Linked DNA regions of Homo sapiens: regions 1 and 3 are each linked to region 2. The links are contacts of gene promoters, found by promoter capture Hi-C in blood cells and fetal thymus (Javierre and others, 2016). All regions are on one chromosome and are shown on one strand. Each heading gives the region's core, a stretch centred on a gene start or on the middle of the fragment in contact. The rest is flanking DNA. Distances are from core to core; before and after follow the strand shown.

The links. The method cuts DNA at HindIII sites, captures the fragments that hold promoters and counts their contacts. A CHiCAGO score of 5 or more calls a contact.
Region 1: a contact is called between a fragment that was not itself captured here and the fragment with the promoter of GRAMD1B in region 2, in 1 of 17 cell types (fetal thymus). The highest score is 7.7, in fetal thymus.
Region 3: a fragment that was not itself captured here is called in contact with the fragment with the promoter of GRAMD1B in region 2 in 1 of 17 cell types (fetal thymus); the score reaches 5.3 in fetal thymus.

The regions. Positions count from the first base shown.
Region 1 is chr11:123,258,004-123,261,301 of GRCh38, forward strand. No RefSeq gene overlaps it. Among named protein-coding and RNA genes, the nearest start is that of LINC02727, 55 kb to the right of the region's middle. The HindIII fragment of the contact is 3,544 bases long and covers 1-3,298 here.
Region 2 is chr11:123,428,341-123,431,557 of GRCh38, forward strand. GRAMD1B (GRAM domain containing 1B) reads left to right here and starts at 1,929. Exons shown (of 20, transcript NM_001387025.1): 1 at 1,929-2,826. The coding sequence starts at 2,453. It overlaps LOC124902776 (a long non-coding RNA gene), which reads right to left and starts at 2,874. Exons shown (of 2, transcript XR_007062928.1): 1 at 2,607-2,874; 2 at 1-476. RefSeq lists silencers at 2,067-2,396, 2,507-2,556. The HindIII fragment of the contact is 5,032 bases long and covers 1-3,217 here.
Region 3 is chr11:123,274,496-123,277,379 of GRCh38, forward strand. No RefSeq gene overlaps it. Among named protein-coding and RNA genes, the nearest start is that of LINC02727, 39 kb to the right of the region's middle. The HindIII fragment of the contact is 6,858 bases long and covers 1-2,884 here.

The DNA of each region.
Region 1 (3,298 bases), core at 333-2,832, 170 kb before region 2:
CTGATACTGTCTCGTTGTGAATGGCTATAATGATCATTCCAGCTAGCTTCATTTCATAGATGAAGAAACTAAACCTCAGGGATGAGTAACTTGCTGGAGACCAGGTAGCAGTAAATGGCTGTGGTGACACCAATGTTTGTACTGCAGTTCCATGTGGGCATTAACCACCTGAAGTTAGTGTAGACCCCACAAGGTGAAGGTGTCGTTCTCAACAAGATTGTCCCCACTTAGATGTCAGCTGCAAAAGGGGTCCCCAGGCACTCACATTTCTGACCAATTGGCTTCAAATCTGGGGGTCCCTACAATGCCCTTCAGGTTTGATAATTTGCTAGAATGACTCACAGAACTCGGGAAAGTGCTATTCTTATGATTATACTTTTATTCTAAAGTATACAAATCAGGACCAACTAAATGAAGAGATGCACAGGGAGAGGTCCGGGTGGGCCTCGAATGAAGAGCTTCTGTGTCCTTTCTCTGTGGATCAGGGTGCATCACCCTCTTGGCATATTGGTGTGTTCACCAACCAAGAAGCTCAATGAGCTTCAATGTCTAGGGTTTTTATTGGAGTTTCACTTTGTAGACATAACTGATAACTCAATCTCCAGCCCCCTCCCTTTTCTGGGCTCAAAGCCCCAACCCTCTAATTTCATGGTTGGTCTTTCTGATAACCAGCCTCCATCCTGAGCCATTTCGTTATCTCACACTCCTGGCCTCAGGCAATCCTCCCACCTCAGCCTCTGGAGCAGCTGGGATTACAGATGCCAGCCACAGCACCTGGCCTGAGCAATCTCATCATAAACTCAGGTGTGATTCAAGGAGCTCATGAATAACAAAGCCACTTCTATCACTTGGGAAAGTTCAGGGGTTTTTGAAGTTCAGCTCTAAACCTGGGTTAAAGACTAGACAAATTCTTTGTCATACAATAGTCGCAGAGCCAGGCAAGTCTGTGTCTGCAGAATCCAGCAAAGTGACTTCCCCTGTGCCCAAAAATGTACCCCAAACACCTGGCTCCCACCTGGCTTTCTGACTATGAGTTTAGGAGAAAGTGAGAAATTGTGATGTATTCGGACCTCTGGAAGTCTTGGAGAGAGGTGTCAGATAGTTCAAAACCACATCCTGTCCTTCTGTTTTGCCCACCTCAAAACCAGACAAAACCCACAGCCCTATTTCCACATTTCTAAGGTAAGAAGCCTAAAGCAGGAAGGATGCTGGAAGAAAATGTGCTGTTCTTCTTCCACCTTAGCAAAGAGCTTGTCATCAGGACAGCCCAGGGCTTCTGAAAGCAAGCCACGTGAGAGGTGCTAGCGCAGACCTTGATTGGAGAGGTCTGCTGTTGGGAGCAAGCCCCCCAAAATCTGGCCATAAACTGGCCCCAAAACTGGCCATGAATAAAATCTCTGCAGCACTGTAACATGTCTATAATGGCCCTAACGCCCAAGCTGGAAGGTTGTGGGTTTAGGGGAATGAGGGCAAGGAACACCTGGCCCACCCAGGGCAGAAAACCGCTTAAAGGCATTCTTAAGCCACAAACAAAAGCCTGACGATCTGTGTCTTAAGGGCGTGTTCCTGCTGCAGTTAACTAGCCCAACCTACTCAATTAATTCGGCCCATCCCTTCATTTCCCTTAAGGGATACTTTTAGTTAATTTAATATCTATAGAAACAATGCTAATGACTGGTTTGCTGTTAATAAATACGTGGGTAAATATCTGTTCGGGGCTCTCAGCTCTGAAGGCTGTGAGACCCCTGATTTCCTACTTCACACCTCTGTATTTCTGTGTGTGTGTCTTTAATTCCTCTAGCACCGCTGGGTTATGGTCTCCCCGACCGAGGTGGTCTCAGCAGTCTGCATTCAGCTTTAATCTGCATTTTAAACAAAAACCCTCCATCCCACACATCCCTCTGCCCTAGGAAGCCATGTCCCAAAACTTGCAAAGCAAAATTGAGCGGTTGATGAGGAATGATTTTAAAGGAATAAAGGAATAAAATCCTGGGCATGCAGGCTACAAAAGGAGAGTATATCCACTTTAATTACTGATGCGAGGTCTTGCAGCGGTGAGCAGGAAAGGGTATGTAGCATCTAAATGCCTACCACAGTGCACTGAGCCCTCACAATTTCATGAAGTATGCCCTACTATCCTACTTTTTATTTTTTTATTTTTGAGACAGGGTCTCACTCTGTCACCCAGGCTATAGCACAGTGGCAAAATCCCAGTTCACTGCAGCCTCCACCTCCTGGGGTTAGGTGATCCTCCCACCTCAGCCTCCTGAGTAGCTGGGACCACAGGTGCGCACCACCACGCCTGGCTAATTTTTGTATTTTTCACCATGTTGGCCAGGCTGGTCTCAAACTCCTGGGATCAAGCAATCTGCCCACCTTTGCTTCCCAAAGTGCTGGTGTTACTGCAAAGGGGTCACAATCCAGACCCCAAGAGAGGGTTCTTGGATTTTGCACAAGAAGGAATTCCAGGCGAATCCATAAAGTGAAAGCAAGTTTATTAGGGAAGTAAAGGAATAAACAGTGGCTACTCCACAGGCAGAGCAACGGCTGGGTTTGTTGAGCTGCTTGGACTTATTGTTACTTCTTGATTGTATGCTAAACAAGGGGTGGATTATTCATAAGTTTTCTGGGAAAGGGGTGGGCAATTCCCGGAACTGAGTGTTCCTCCTCTTTTTAGACTCCATAGGGTAACTTCCTGACGTTGCCATGGCATCTGTAAACTGTCATGGCATTGGTGGGAGTGACTTTTAGCATGCTAGTGAATGATAATTAGCATATAATGAGCAGTGAGGATGAGCAGAGGTCACTCTCATGGCCATCTTGGTTTTGGTGGGTTTTGGATGGCTTCTTTACTGCAACCTGTTTTCTTAATATCAGCAAGGTCTTTATGACCTATGTTTTGTACCAACCTCCTATCTCATCCTGTGACTAAGAATGCCTAACCTCCTGGGAATGCAGCCTAGTAGGTCTCAGCCTTGTTTCACCCAGCCCCTATTCAAGATGGAGTCGCTCTGGTTCAAATACCTCTGACAGTGGGATTACAGGCATGAACCACCACACTTAGTCCCTACTTTAATAAATAAAGAAAATAAGGCTCTGAGAGTTAAAGAATTTGCCCAAAGATAAGGAATTAGGAAGAGACAAAGCTCTGATTCAAACCCAGGTTCAGTTCCAAGACCCACTCTCCAAGCTGCCTCCAGTAGCCAGTAAGAGCTTGGAAAATGTTGCTGTCCTTTTTGTTTGCTTGGTGTTTCATTAAATATTATTTTGTATGATTATGTAATTAAACTGTGATCCT
Region 2 (3,217 bases), core at 679-3,178:
GACCTTGGCAGGCCTGACACCTGATGGCAAGGGGTTTCTGCTTTCTGTGCTATGTCCAGGAGTTAAAGTAGAGTGAAACCAAATCACTCCTGAGAGGGCCAGTGGCTGGATTTCAGAAACGGGGGCTGACATTCCAGGGAGTCATTTATGGGAGGGCCTGGCCTTGGCTCTTCAGCCGCAGTATCTCTCTCCCTGAGGAAGAAATATTTCCCTTGGTTTCCCAGCCTCTCAAAAGTTGTGTAATGTCAGGATGCCTTGAGCTTTTCCATACTTGACAAGTGTCATTGCAGAGCTTGGTAGATCCATAGCCAGCTGTCATCCTTGATGTCTTGCTGAACTGCAGGGATGTATTTACTTGCAGTGAATTCTTGTGATCTTTAGGGATGTGAATTTTCCTCAGCTTCGGGACACTTGTGAAATGTGACTTTTGTCCTGGCACGGAAGCTGGGCATTGGCTCCCAGATGGAAACTGGACTCTGAGAGAGGCAGAAAAGAAGGGTGGATCAGATTGTGGACTTCATGGTATGTTCTTGGGTGCTTCTCATGATCTCTTTGAAAGTTACTGACCAGGCTGGGCATGGTGGCTCATGCCTGTAATCTCAGCACTTTGGGAGGCCAAGGTGGGCAGATCACTTGAGGCCAGGAGTTTGAGACCAGCCTGGGCAATATAGCAAGACCTCATATCGACAAAAAGAAATAAAACTTAGCTGCGTGTGGTGGTGCGCACCTGTACTCCCAGCTACTCAGGAGGCTCAGCTGGGAGGACAGCTTGAGCCCAGGAATTCAAGGTTGCGGTGAGCCATGACTGCACCACTGCACTCCAGCCTGGGCAACAGAGTGAGACTTTGTCTCTTAAAAACAAAACAAAACAAAACAGTTACTGACCCAAGAGACAAATGCATTGGGCTGGGGTTGAAGGAGGAGAATGGCTGCTACAGCCCTGCTCTAGGAGCTGGGCTGGGTTAGACTCAGTGCCCACAGAGAGCACCTAAATAGGATGGATCGGTTCTAGGGTTGATGATCTCTTAGGGCCTGGGTCTAGAGAGTGAGTGTGGTTCAGCACATCTTGGGATGCTACCAGGACTGAACCAGACTTCCTAGGTTCCATGACATGGGGACATACTGGATTCTGTGACTCAGTCCATGGCAGGCTGAAGCAGAACTGAATCAGCCCTCAGCAATGTAAGGGGGGGTACCCTCGACTCCCTGGGGCTCTGTTGGATGCATTGCTTTGTGGGTGCTCACCGACTCCTCATTTCATTCTTTGCTAGGGACGCGGCTATGGTACTGGCAGCTGGCTCATGTACAGGGTTCAGGCCCCATTTTCCTTACTGGTCCTGTGTCCTTTGTCTCTCAGACCCTGTTGTCTGTCTTTCCTTGGTATGTCATGTCTGGTATCCTCAGCTCACGCCGCCACGGGAGAACTGTCCTCTTCTCAGCTTGTCATTTTGGAAGCAGCCTCCAGCAACCTTGCTTTCCTCCTCTGACTATACTCCGGCCTGCAGTGCCACTACTCACGCCCCCAAATAATTTAAACTGCCTTTCTTAGGAGACAAGAGCTAGTTGAAAAGTCTCCTCATTTTCCTTCAACCCTGTATCATGGGTGGCCTGAGAGAGTGAGGACTGAATTCATTGACTCCCCTTTCTCTGCACCCCCCACCCCCAAGGAAATAGCCGAGTTCGACTAATGGGAGTTGCCTGGCCAATCGTTGCCCTGAGAAAGTTTGGTTTGTGATCCTATTTCAGTAGGCTGATTGGAGCAGCCTTTACTTGGAGGTCGAGTCCCTCCCCGAGGGAATCCGTGTACAGTTACACTAGCGGTCGCTGCCAGTGCTAGCCCATTCAGGATAGCCCCCCTCACCCCGCCCCCAGCCCCCGCTCCTCCTCCTCCTTTTTTGTTTTTATCCAGTGTCTCGCTTCCTCTCTCTCTCTCTCTCTCTGTCTCTCTCTCCCTTTCCCTCCTACCACTGCCTCTTCCTCCCGCTCTCTACCTCCCTGCAGCGCCAAGCCGGCTCCCCAACCTGGTCTGCTGAACGCAAACCGCTGAGAGTTTGCTGCACCGCCCCCTGGGGCCCCTGGCTGCCGAGTCCCGCTAAGGCAAAGACGCCAGCAAGCGAGGAAGCGCAGCGGAAGAAAAACAAGCGGGCGCGCGAGGGGAGCCCCAGGAGGGCTGCCGAGTGGCTGGCAGGCGGCTCCCGCCCCTCCCGGGTGGCCTCGCCGGCGGCTGACGGCCCGGAGGACGCGCGCTCCGAAAAGTTAGACTCCGGGCGGCGGCGCGCTACGCCGCGTCCCCTCGCGTCCCTTCCTCGCTGCGCTCCGGGAAAGGAACTTGTTCCTTCGGCCCCAGGATTGGGGAGTGTGCCGCGGGGCCGAGGGTGGGGAACAGCCAGAGGGAGACGCGAACCAGGCCGCTGGCGGAGGGCTCAGGGGGAGCGCAGAGGCGACGGCCCCCATGCCGGCGGCCAACATGATGGAGAACCGGCCGCTGCCCGCCCTGCAGGTGCCCGAGCCGCAGGGTGCGCCCGAGGGCAGCCCGGTCTGGTCCAGTTCGTCGACCCCCACGCTTCGCCGCCGGCGCTTCAAGATGCGCCGCATGAAGAACGTACAGGAGCAGAGCCTGGAGGCCGGGCTGGCCCGGGACCTGCCCGCCGTCTTGGCCCCCGGCAAGGAGTTCCTGCAGCTGCCGTCCATCGAGATCACGCCCTCCAGCGACGAGGACACCCCGTGGTCCAACTGCTCCACACCCAGCGCGTCCCCGCGCCGAAAACGCTTCCTCCTCCGCAAGTGGCTGAGGGTGAGGGAGCGGAAGGAGTGCAGTGAAAGCAGGTACGTCCCCGTTCCGCCCGTCTCCTTCCCTTCCCTCCCGTCCTCTCCAGAGCCGTCCAGGGCCCCGGGGCATTCTGGGGGAAACGTCCTGGGGGAGAACAGGAGCCCGTCACCAGAGGCGCTTCTGGAGGGCGCTGCGCCTGGTCCCAGGGATGGTGGCATTCAGCTTCCACGCGTGCCACCCGCTCCCCAACTCAGGGTGAGGGGCTTCATGTTGCACGACACGTTTACGTGGGGCTTTACGCTGCATTCCATCTCCCTTGATCCTCGCAGCGAAATAAATAATAAAAATAATAACAGCTAATAGTTATTGAGCCCTTACCATGTGCGGGCCACTATGTTGCGCACTTCATGTACCTCCAGATTTCATCCCTACGCAAACTCTCTGAGG
Region 3 (2,884 bases), core at 99-2,598, 150 kb before region 2:
TTTCCCACCTCAGCCTCCTGAGTAGCTAGGATTACAGGCACAAGACACCAGGCTAATTTTCGTTTCTTTTTTTGTACAGGTGGGCATCTCACTATGTTGACCAGGCCAGTCTTGAAGTCTTGGGCTCAAGCGATCTACCCGCCTTGGCCTCCCAAGTAGCTGGGACTACAAGTGTGCATCACCAAACCCAGCTAATATTTTTTATTTTTTATTTTAGTAGAGTTGGAATCTTGCTATGTTGCCCAGGCTGGTCTCAAACCCCTAGGCTCAAATGACCTTCCCTCCTTGGCCTCCCAAAGTGCTGGGATTACAGCAATGAGCCACTGGGCCTGGCCTGCCTTTTTGATACATACCTGAGGAAAAGGACAAAGGCATTTTAATTCAGTGCATTTAGAAAAAATTAAGGCCTCCCCAAAGGCAAAATTATTATCTATCACCTAAGGTGGGCAATGGGCTAGGATTTTCTATTAGATGAGGGTGATAACTTGGGAACAAGAGCATTACCTGGAAGCCAGACCTGGTTTTATCAGCAACAGATTCAAATTTCCTGGGCAATGCATTTGAGTACTCCTGGAGTCCGTTTTCTTTTCTGTAGCATGAGCAAAGCGTCTCTGAACTTTCTGATCTCAAGATGATACGAGATTAAATGAGATCGTTTTGTAAAGAATAGTCCCATAGAAAACACAGGGCACACTGCGCTTCACTGTAGTGTCAGGCAGCAGGGCCCCCGCCTTAGATCCATGGGAGGAGACCTGACTTCCTGCCCTCCTTCTCAAAGGTGGCATCCAGGCTGGCTCAGTTCCTTCTATCAGGGTGGCTTAATAGTTGTCCTGGCTGTTTTCATTTGAGCAGGATAGGAAAATAATGTAGTGGGATTGTCCAAAAATCTAGATATGACTACAATTCTCCTTATTTGGCTTTTTTTTTTTTTTTTTTTTTTTAGATACAGGGTCTCGCTCTGTTGCCCGGGCTGGAGTACAGTGTCACAATCACAACCCACTGCAGCCTTGACCTCTGAGGCTCAAGCGATCCTCCCATCTCAGCCTCCTGAGTAGCTGGGACCACAGGTGTGTGCCACCATGCCGGCCTAATTTTTTAATTTTTTTGTAGAGATGCGGTCTCCCCTATGTTGCCTAGGCTGGTCTCAAACTCTTGGGTTTATTTGGTATTTTTAAAGGATATTTAGAGTCACAAGAGAGAGTTATCTTTTTTTATAGACCAGTCTTCTTGCAGGATAAGGGACACGAGAAAAATCCTACTCTCACACAACTTCTGATCACAACTTTCATGTGGGACCTGGAGATTTCTGTCTTATTGCACTGTTATGAAGACAAGGTCAGAATATATGTAAAGTGCTCATAGCAGGGCTCATAGCAGTGCCTGACCAGGGAGTACTCCATGAGGGTCAGCTCTACGAGAAGCAGATTCACACGGAATAGGCCCACCCCTAACATCGTGGCCTGAGGCAAGACTACATCTGAAAGCCCACTTACCTCTGAATATTTAAAGTTCTGAATTGGAAAACAAATTGCTCATTAAATATGTCCTATTCTACTTTAACACATAGATCTGTATAACGACCTGGAAGGCCCAGTTTAAAATGAGAATTATTGGACCCCTTGGAGTTGTGTGTCAAAACACACACAGCCAGGCGTGGTGGCTCACTCCTTTAATCCCAGCACTTTGGGAGTCTGCGGCAGGTGGATCACTTGAGGCCAGGAGTTCAAGACCAACCTGGCCAACATGGTGAAACCCTGTCTCTACTAGAAATACAAAAATTAGTTGGACATGGTGGTACACACCTGTAATTACAGCTACTTGGGAGGCTGAGGCACGAGAATCACTTGAGCTGGTGAGGCAGAAGTTGCAGAGAGCTGAGACTGCACCACTGCACTCCAGCCTGGGTGACAGCGAGACTCTGTCTCAAAAAAAAACAACAACATGGGTTGTGGGGAGAGCTGGCTTTTGGCTCCTTATGCCCCAGCCTGCAGCCTTCTCCCTTCCCTTTTCACTTCTGGCTCTGACTTGCCTGCGAGGGCAGTGTAGCCACACATTGGAGCTCCCTCCTACTCCCTGCAGTCACCCCTGCACCCCCTCTTGGTTCCAGCAGTGCACAGCTGGGGTGCAGTGCCACTCTCCGGGGATGGGCTTAAGAAAGGAGCCTGTGGAGGCCCTAGAAGCAGGTTTGGGGCTATTTGCATAGAGAATACTGGGAGCAGGGGTACCTGGCATGGGATTCAGCTGGTCATGGCTTCTTGGCCCACAGACTTCTCTCCCCATGGGAGCCAGATGGGAAGCCAGAGTGTGGGATCCCCTGGAGCATGGGGCACAGAATGGGAACCCCTCCTTGACTGGGTCTAAGGGCTGTACTGGCTGGTGTTTTAGAGCATTTCCATTGTAGGAGATAGACTGCCTGGGATTACATCCTGGTTTCTGCACTTTATGGAGTGGTGAAACCAGAATTTAACTGGGTGGTTTACCTAAAACCTCTGTGTCAAAATTTCCTCATCTATAAAACAGGGGTGATGGTAGGAGTACTCACCCCATAGGGTTGTTATGAGGATTAAATGAGTGAATATCTGTAAAAGCACTTTGAAATGTGCTTTGTTTGCATACACAGCGTGCTATAGGTATTCATGTCCACACCTCCTTCTTTTAAAAAAACAATTCTTGACCTAGTCTAAGCATAATAGTCAATGTCTCATTCCTGCTTCTGCTTGCAGAAAGGAAGACAGGAAGGAAACAAACAGTGATTTCACACAATGGTTCTAAAATTGCCTTCTAAGGTGTGAATTTAGTTAGTTAGTTTTTTTTTTTTTTTCTTTTCAATGTTTGGAAAGAGACTACACTGCCCAAAAGGCATTCTGGTGTATCCAAATAGGAA